Linked DNA regions of Homo sapiens: region 1 is linked to region 2. Evidence: promoter capture Hi-C in human tissues and cell types (Jung and others, 2019). All regions are on one chromosome and are shown on one strand. The core of a region is centred on a gene start or on the middle of the fragment in contact, and the rest is flanking DNA. Distances in the headings are between cores, read along the strand shown. Region 1 has its middle 28 kb from the start of ZNF701. Region 2 holds the start of ZNF610 (zinc finger protein 610).

What was found. Contacts are between HindIII fragments. The study calls those that stand out against the background at their distance.
Region 1: a contact is called between a fragment that was not itself captured here and the fragment with the promoter of ZNF610 in region 2, in 2 of the 25 tissues and cell types used here (H1 embryonic stem cells and small bowel).

Annotation. Positions count from the first base shown.
Region 1 is chr19:52,596,034-52,600,099 of GRCh38, reverse strand. It overlaps a transcript of ZNF701 not described here and the pseudogene ZNF137P. Among named protein-coding and RNA genes, the nearest start is that of ZNF701, 28 kb to the right of the region's middle. The HindIII fragment of the contact is 3,122 bases long and covers 424-3,545 here.
Region 2 is chr19:52,333,290-52,337,776 of GRCh38, reverse strand. ZNF610 (zinc finger protein 610) reads right to left here and starts at 1,534. Exons shown (of 6, transcript NM_001161425.2): 1 at 1,271-1,534. The HindIII fragment of the contact is 24,712 bases long and covers 1-4,487 here.

The DNA of each region.
Region 1 (4,066 bases), core at 735-3,234, 260 kb before region 2:
GATGGGAAATAGAGGAAAAGAGCTAAGAGTTTGAAATCAGATGCTTCAGTGTTCTATACAACCCATTAAGGACATGTTTTCAAGATAAACACTAATCAGTCCTCAGGGAAGAGGACACATAGTTGAACAGTCACACATAGTTCATCCTGACTCTACTTGGTAATGGAGGTGACCATCTGTGTCAGCTAACTAGCGTCATCCTGAGGGAGGGGGAGAAACCCTAACCCACAACTTTTGGCAAGTGTGAGTTTTACAACATGGCGACAGGGGCCCTCTCTGGTGAGGCTCCTACAATCCGACAGAAACTGATGTCAGCAGTAAATAATAAAATTTAGAATATATGATTAAGTACAGAATTTATTTGAAGGCAAAGCTTGGAAATAGCCACGTGGAAACATCAACTCTAAATGAATGGGATCAGCGTTCCCAAGTAGAGACGTTAAGATTTCACACACAGGGAAAGACAGAGAAGCTTTAGCAGAATCACCACGTTTTTTATTCTGGGCCAGTGCATAGGCTGCAGCAACTTGATTGATTACGGATAGATACACTTCAAGGAAGGTTACTTTATCACTACATAAGAAGGGACAATGATCCGAGGAGGTCTTATCTCTGGGGCTACTTAGTCTTCTTAATTACTTACAGGAAAACTCTTAGAAGTTGCACCTGCATTCCACTGGACTCAGGTTGCCTGACCACATTCCTCTCAAGGCTCAGAATTATCTCAAAGTCCATAGCCTTAAATTGAAGTTATTTGATGTTTGAATTATTTAATTTCCTACTGAGATAAAGGTACTGTTTCCCTTGTTGTTTGCCTTTCAAAGAGAGCTCCCAAGTCCTTCAAAAATACACCCCTGGGTCATTAAGCTGAAAAAAGGTTTAATTTCTAAAAAAAAAAAACAAAGTTAGCCGGGCATAGTGGTTCATACCTGTAATCCCAGCTACTCGGGAAGCTGAGGCAGGAGAATCGCTTGAACTCGGGAGACGGAGGTTGTGGTGAGGCGAGATCGTGGCTTGCACTCAAGCCTGGGTAACAAGAGAAAAACTCTGTCTAAAAAAAAAAACCTCAGAAGACAGAGAAAATGAATTTACAAATTTTCTAATTGAATGTTCTAAGAGACAAAAGGAAAGAAAAATCTCTTCCTTTACTTTTAAAGGAGGACTTATACCTCTCATTTATTTGCTTGTTTGAGACAGGGTCTAGCTTTTTCACCCAGGCTGGAGTGTGGTGGCAAGATCAGAGCTCACTGCAGCCTCCAACTTTCTGGCTCAAGTGATCCTCCCACCTCAGCACCCCAAGCAGCTGGGACCACAGGTGTGGACTAACACACCTGGCTGTTTTTTTTTATTTTTAGTAGAGATGAGGTCTTACTATGTTGCCTAGGCTGATTTCGAATTCCTGGGCTTAAGCGATCCTCCCTCCTTGGCCTCTCAAAGTGCTGGGATTACAGGTGTGAGCCACCGCTCCGGGCCCTGAGTTTATTTCCATGAAATATGAAATTATCCTCCACTCCTGGGAGTAATAGGCAGTTTTGCACGTCACCTTTCAGTTTCCATTATCCACTCAAACAACCCAGGACCTTGCTTAGTTTAATAATCCCTTCTAATTGCCAGTGCCCGCGGCAACCAGCGCGCCACTCCACCCCTTTACCGAGGTCCCTGCCCCTCTCCCCCACCCTGCCCCAGACAGAGGGGAGCTCGCCCCGCCTGCCGGATGCGTGACTCTACCTGCTCAAAAAAGGCGCTTTGCATTAAAACCATTTTCAACTTAAGAGGAAAAACGATTCAGCGTTCAGTACAGGTGGCCCAACACAATATGTTGTTTTACCTTCGATTGTTTGAAATATTAACTTAGGGGCCGGGCGCGGTGGCTCGCGCCTGTAATCCCAGCACTTTGGGAGGCCGAGGCGGGCGGATCACGAGGTCAGGAGATCGAGACCATCCTGGCTAACACAGTGAAACCCCGTCTCTACTGAAAATACAAAAAATTAGCCAGGCATGGTGGCGGGCGCCTGTAGTCCCAGCTACTCGGGAGGCTGAGGCAGGAGAATGGCATGAACCCGGGAGGCGGAGCTTGCAATGAGCCGAGATCGCGCCACTGCCCTCCAGCCTGGGCGACAGAGCAAGTCTCTAAAATGGACAGGAGGCATCCCTGTGATATTAGGGGTAATATCACGGCACATCAGAAACTATCCACCAATTAGTACCCGGAGAATCTAGTCCTGCAGGGCAAGAGGATGACAGCAGACGACACCTGGGGTCCAGCTGAGGAGAAAGCCAGGACCCGCCCCCTCGAGACCCTGCCCTTCAAAACACCACTTCCAGACCTTGCCCTCAAGATGACGATCACCCTCTGGCCCGGCCTCCAGGCAGCCTCCTCATTCTTGCCCCGCCCAGATTCTGTTCAAGGCCCTGCCCCTTCTAATCAGGTCCCACCCCAACGGCCACCTACACACTCTCATAGCCAGGTGTGGCTGTGATCTATCAGCCTTGGGCTCCCAAAGTGCTGGGATTACAGGCATGAGCCACCCCACCTGGCCCAATCTTCTTAACATAAACACTTTAATGTAAATTAATTCTTAAACTCAAGGTTAAGTCAACTCAATCTCAAGTCAATGCCTATTTGGCTCTAATGTCAATTAAAGCTTTATGATCTTCTATAGTCACTGTATTTGGAACAGTTATCTCAAAAATGAATTTTCTGATGTTCTGCATGGAGTGCCCACAGACTGAAGACCTTGCCACACTTAAGACATTTGTAAGATTTCTGTCCAGTATGGATTCTCTGATGTCTAATGAGGTGTGAACGTGAAGTCAAGACTTTGCCACAATCATCACACTTGTGAGGTTTCTCTCCTGTATGAATTCTCCTATGTTTTGCATAGGATGAAGCTTGACTGAAGACCTTGCCACAGTCATGATATTTGTAAGGTTTCTCTCCAGTATGAGTTCGCTGATAAACTGCAAGATATGATCGATGTCTGAAAATTTTACCACATTTATTACACTTGTAAGATCTGTCTTCATTATGGATTCTCCAGTGATTTGCAATGGTTGTAGCATTACTGAAGACTTTGTGACAATCATTACATTTGCAAAGTTTCCCTACACCATGGATTGCTTGATGATAAAAAAGTGACGACTTCCCACTTAAGGCTTTGCCCCACTCATTACACTTGTAAGGTTTCTCTCCAGTATAAACTCTCTGATGTTGTGCAAGGTTTGATTGTTGATTAGAAACCTTAGACAGTATGAAGTCTATGATGACATGCAAGGTGTGCTTTTCTACTAAAAACCTTGCCACATTCATTACATGTGTAAGGTTTCTTTCCAGTATGAATTGCCTTATGCATTACAAGGGCTGAATTTTGAGCAAAGGTCTTTCCATACTCGTGAAATGTGTAAGGTTCTCTCCAGTATGAACTCTCTGATGTTGTGCAAGGCATAAATCATGGTGGAAAACCTTGTCACAACCCTTACATTTGTAAGATTTCCCTCCAGTATGAAGTCCATGATGTGCAAGGTTTGCTTTTCTACTAAAAGCCTTGCCACATTCGTTACATGTGTAACATTTCTCTCCAGTATGAACTCTTACGGCATGAAAGGCATGAATTATCCCAGAAAGCCTTGTCACAAACCTTACGTTTGTATGGTTTTTCTCCAGTATGAATTCTCCTGTGTGTTTCAAGTTGTGATCCTCAACTCTAAACTTTGTTGCATTCTTCACATTTGTAATGTTTCTGTACAGTATGAAGTCTATGATGACACTGAAGGGATGACTTCTGATTGAAGGTCTTGGAACACTCATTACACTTGTAAGGTTTTTCTCCAGTATGAACACTATGGTGCCATGCAAGGTATTGCTTCTGATGAAAGACTTTGCCACATACATCACATTTATACTGTTTCTCTCCTGAATGGGTTACGTGATGTCTCCTTAAACATGAGCTATGATTAAAGGCTTTGCCACACTCATTACATTGGAAAGGTTTTTCCCTCATGTGTACTTCTTGTATTTGTGTGAATAATGAAGAATAGAGGAAATTCTTCCCATACTTAATAGAAA
Region 2 (4,487 bases), core at 285-2,784:
TCTGTACTTTTGAAATAAATTTTGTGCTTATTAGATTACAATTAGAGAAATCAGTATATCACAATTTGATCATAATAGTCCATCAACTCATCGCTCATCTGCACTCAGGTTCCCCCTCTTTTGTCATTAGTATGTTTCCCTCCCTCATTCTGTACAGCTCTCTCATTCTTACCTTCTTTCTCCTGCTTTTTTTCACTTCATTTTTCCCATAAGAATTGGCTTATTTTTCTGCCCCTCTCCTCTCCTGCTGTTTCTCCCCCTCTTCCCTCTATTCCTTCTCTTCCATTTGTTCTGCTCCATTCTGGCAATTTGTTTTACCCCTTGTTCCTCTTTGTGTCCAATTTTTGATTGTCCCCAATTTCCATTCTGCCTGTTTCTTGCCCTCCCTATCTCTGCTTCCTCTCTGTTCTCCCTGTTAAATTTCCTCTTCCCTGCTACACTCTCTTGTCCCCACTCTCTGGCCCCCCCGGATCCCAGGCCTCCCCATGCTGTGGTTCTCCCTCTGCTCTCCTTGTCATCAGCTGCCCCCTCTTGCTGTCCCAGCACCATGCTGCTCTGTCTGCCCTGGCTCCAAATCCCTCCTCCTCTCCCCTACTCTGTCTGAGGAGCCTCCCCCTTTCTGCCCCTCTCCCAATCTTGCTTCATCTTCATCTCTCTGGAGACCCAGCTTTTCTCTACATTTCTCCAGTTACTTTTCTCCCCCTGCTACATTCTCGGCTTCATTCACTGTCTCTGTAAATCTCTCAGCTACTCTCTGCCGTCTGCTTATGGATCTCCCTCATGCTTCTTTTTCAAAATTTTTCTATTTCCTGCCACTCTTTCACCATCTTTCCCCACACATCCATAGGCAGGGGAGTACAATAAGGTGCCCACCTCCGCCAAGAGCACATTTTTAGTGGGATGGAATTTGGGACGAAGAATCCTGAATGTCCTAAGACAGAAGAAGTCACGTCCCCACACCCGGGGGTCGGGAGTAGCGATGGCTGCGAAGGGGAGGCCTGGGGAGTAGGAAGGCCCGGATCAAGGAGGAAAAGGGTGGGGCTGAATTATTAGAAGTGTGGGGTCTCAAGGGTCCCAGGACCCAGTACAGGACGCGGCCTCCCCCGCCGGGACTGGGGCTGCGGCGCTGCGCTTCAGGGGCCGGGGGCGAGGTTGGGAGGCTCCCCGGGCGGGAATCCACCTTGCGGTAAGGACTTTTAAAAGCGCGGGGCAGGACGTTGGGTCAGTAAAGAGTTTTAAGCGGAAAGGAGTCTCGAAAATCCGTGTTTACCTGGCCCAAGGCAGAACGAGCGGGGACAGGACCCGTCGCCGAGCGATTTTAACACACAGGGAAGCGAGCGCCGGACTCTCACGGAGACGCCTGAATTTACACGGGGTGGAGGGAGCGGTGCGGGGATTTCAAGGTCTGTGTTGACTCTCAGATCCCGGGTACAGAAGCGCGGGGGAGCTGGGAAGCCCAGATTGAATCTAAACAAAGGGAAACTGACGCGCTGCGGTGTGACCTTCTACCCACGCGATCCGCTTCCGGGTCTGCAAAAAACTGCGCGCGCGCAGCATAGAGAGCGGACCGGGACGGGACGGGGCGGGGCTTCCCTAGGCCACGCCTCCAGTGCCTCTGTTTTCCGGGTTTTGCTGGCAGTGAGGCTGGAGCAGCTCAGCCCTCTGCAAACTGGGATCCTGCCGGAGCAAAGCAACGTCAGTTGAGGATTAGATCCAGGAAATTTCCTGCTATTAAAATCAATTTTAAGCCGGCCGTGGTGGCAGGCACCTGTAGTCCCAGCGACTAGAGAGGCTGAGGCTGGAGGATCGCTTCAGCCCAGGAGTTCGAGTCTACACTGAGCTATCATGGCCACTGCACTCCAGCCTGGGCGTAGTGTAGACCCAGTGCTATACTCAGTGTAGACTCTGTCCTAAAATAAATAAGTAAATAAAAACTAATTTTAACAATTTAATTTAAAAGGCCTGGAATTCTGTGTGAAGGCGATGCAAGTTAAAATGTGAAATGCAAAGCCCTGCCTGGGTAGCATGTGCAATTTCATGCTGACGGCCCACAGAACATAATAGAAATCTTCTCCCTTTCCATCATCATCTCTGATCTCCAGCACGGGAGAAAGATGTAGGCTGGGAGGTTAAGCCCGTCTAGTGTTTTCACGTTCTTCTGCCTGCTTTTATTCTGACTGTGCTGGCAGCTGATTAGATTGTGCCCACCCAAATTGAGGTGGGTCTGCCTTTCCCAGTCCACTGAGTCATCTCTAGAGTGCTCATCTCTAGAGAGTTTCCGAGGGACAACGCCAAGCGCGTTGGAGGGTTAAGGCCAACCTGGGAATCCGTATTTACCTGGCCCAAGGCAGAACGAACGGGGCATCTCCGTGAGAGTCTGGCGGTCGCTTCCCTGTGTGTTAAAAACGCTACAGGCACATGCCACCATACCCATCGTTCGGCGATGGGTCCTGTCCCCGGAGGGATGTTAGGCCACCACCAACTGCTTTTTTTTCTTGAGACGGAGTCTCGCTCTGTCACCCAGGCTCACTGCAAGCTCCGCCTCCTGGGTTCACGCCATTCTCCTGCCTCAGCCTCCTGAGTAGCTGGGACCACAGGCACCCACCACCACGCCCGCCTAATTTTTTGTATTTTTAGTAGAGATGGGGTTTCACCGTGTTAGCCAGGATGGTCTCGATCTCCTGACCTCGTGATCCACACCCCCCCCCCACGCCCCGGCCCCCAAAGTGCTGGGATTACAGGGGTGAGCCACTGCACCCGGCCCAACTGTTGCTTTTAAAAAAACCAATAACTTTAAAAAATAGATGTAAATTACATTGTGTGTGTGTGTGTGTGTGTGTTTGTTTTTGAGACAGAGTCTTGCTCTGTCACCCAGGCTGGAGTGCAGTGACACGGTTTCAGCTCACTGTAGCCTCTGCCTCCCCGGTTCAAGCGACTCTCCAGCCTCAGCCTCCCAAGTAGCTGGGGCTACAGGCTTGCACCACAGTGCTTGGCTAATTTTTGTATTTTTAGTACAGACACGGTTTCACCATGTTGGACAGGCTGGTCTCAAACTCCTGACCTCAGGTGATTCTCCTGCCTGAAAGATTGGTGCAATTTCTCTGTTAAATCATCTTATATGTTTCATCTTACATTCTGTTTAGATTTTCTGTCTCTACTACTGTCAAAATTGGTAGAGTACATTTTCCTAGAAAATTTGTTTCATCTGTGTTTCCAGTCAATATTCATTTAATTTTATAAATTACTTTATTTTATTTTATTTTTGAGACAAAGTCTCACTCCAATACCCATGCTGGAGTGCAGTGGCGCAATCTCAGCTCACTGCAACCTCCAACTCCCGGGTTCAACCAATTCTCCTGCCTCAGCCTCCCGAGTAGCTGGGACTACAGGCACGTGCCACCATGCCTGGCTAAGTTTTGTATTTTTAGTAGAGACGGGATTTCACTAAGTTGGTCAGGCTGGTCTTGAACTTCTGACCTCGTGATCCACCTGCCTTGGCCTCCCAAAGTGCTGGGATTACAGGCGTGAGCCACCAAGCCCGGCCTAAATTAGTTATTTAAAAAACTAATACACTTTATTTTAGAAGATTTATAGATTTATATTTAAAAAATTCAAAAAAGGTAGACAAGTTCCATATACCCTGACCCGTTTTCCCTATTATTAACATCTTATACTAGTTTTGTATGGGTTTTACAGTTTATAAACCATTGTTGATATACTACCATCAACTTATTCATAATTTATTCTGATTTCTTTGGTTTTAACTCATGTTCTTTTCTGCAGGGAGCTGAAGGCCTGTGGGATGTGACCAAGTTTATGGAGTTTAATCTGGCAAACAGTCTTGAAAACAGTGACTCCATAGCTGGAGAACTCAATTTAGGACTCTTTTAGCAAGCACAAATCAAAGACTATCTGTAATCAGTAGGTTAAGACAGTCATTCATGCATAAGTTTTTCACTACACTTACATACAACTTTTCTTCACTTTCTGAGAAGGGCACAGCATTTTTACCTTTTAATTTAACAAATACCATTTAATTAGGTTTAAAGTTCTCCTTTAAAGAGTAATGTGTGGTTTTACATGCCTAGCTTTTAATTACTCTTTAACTAATTCATGGGCCCTCTGTAATCTCTCTCCCTTCAGAGGTTACTATTTTACTTAAATTGAATTTGGAAAGCTACGTCAGGGATAGAAGAGAGGTAACAACAGTGACCATTATTAGAAAGCAGGTTTTTCAAATTCTTACATTTTACTTAAATCTTAGCAGAGAATCATAGCCTGGGACGTAACACATGAAATTTTGCTACGGGCTGCCCACAGAGCCAGAGGGCAGCGGTGCAGGTCCTGGGAGGCAGCCATGTTGTACTTTCTTAGGCTTTGCCTGTGTCTGCGCCGGTCCCTCCCTCCTTTGCCAGGGGGATGTTGCCAGCCTGGGCAGGCCTTGTCGGCTTGGTTACCGGGAGCTTTTCTGCTGCTGAGCCTTTTCT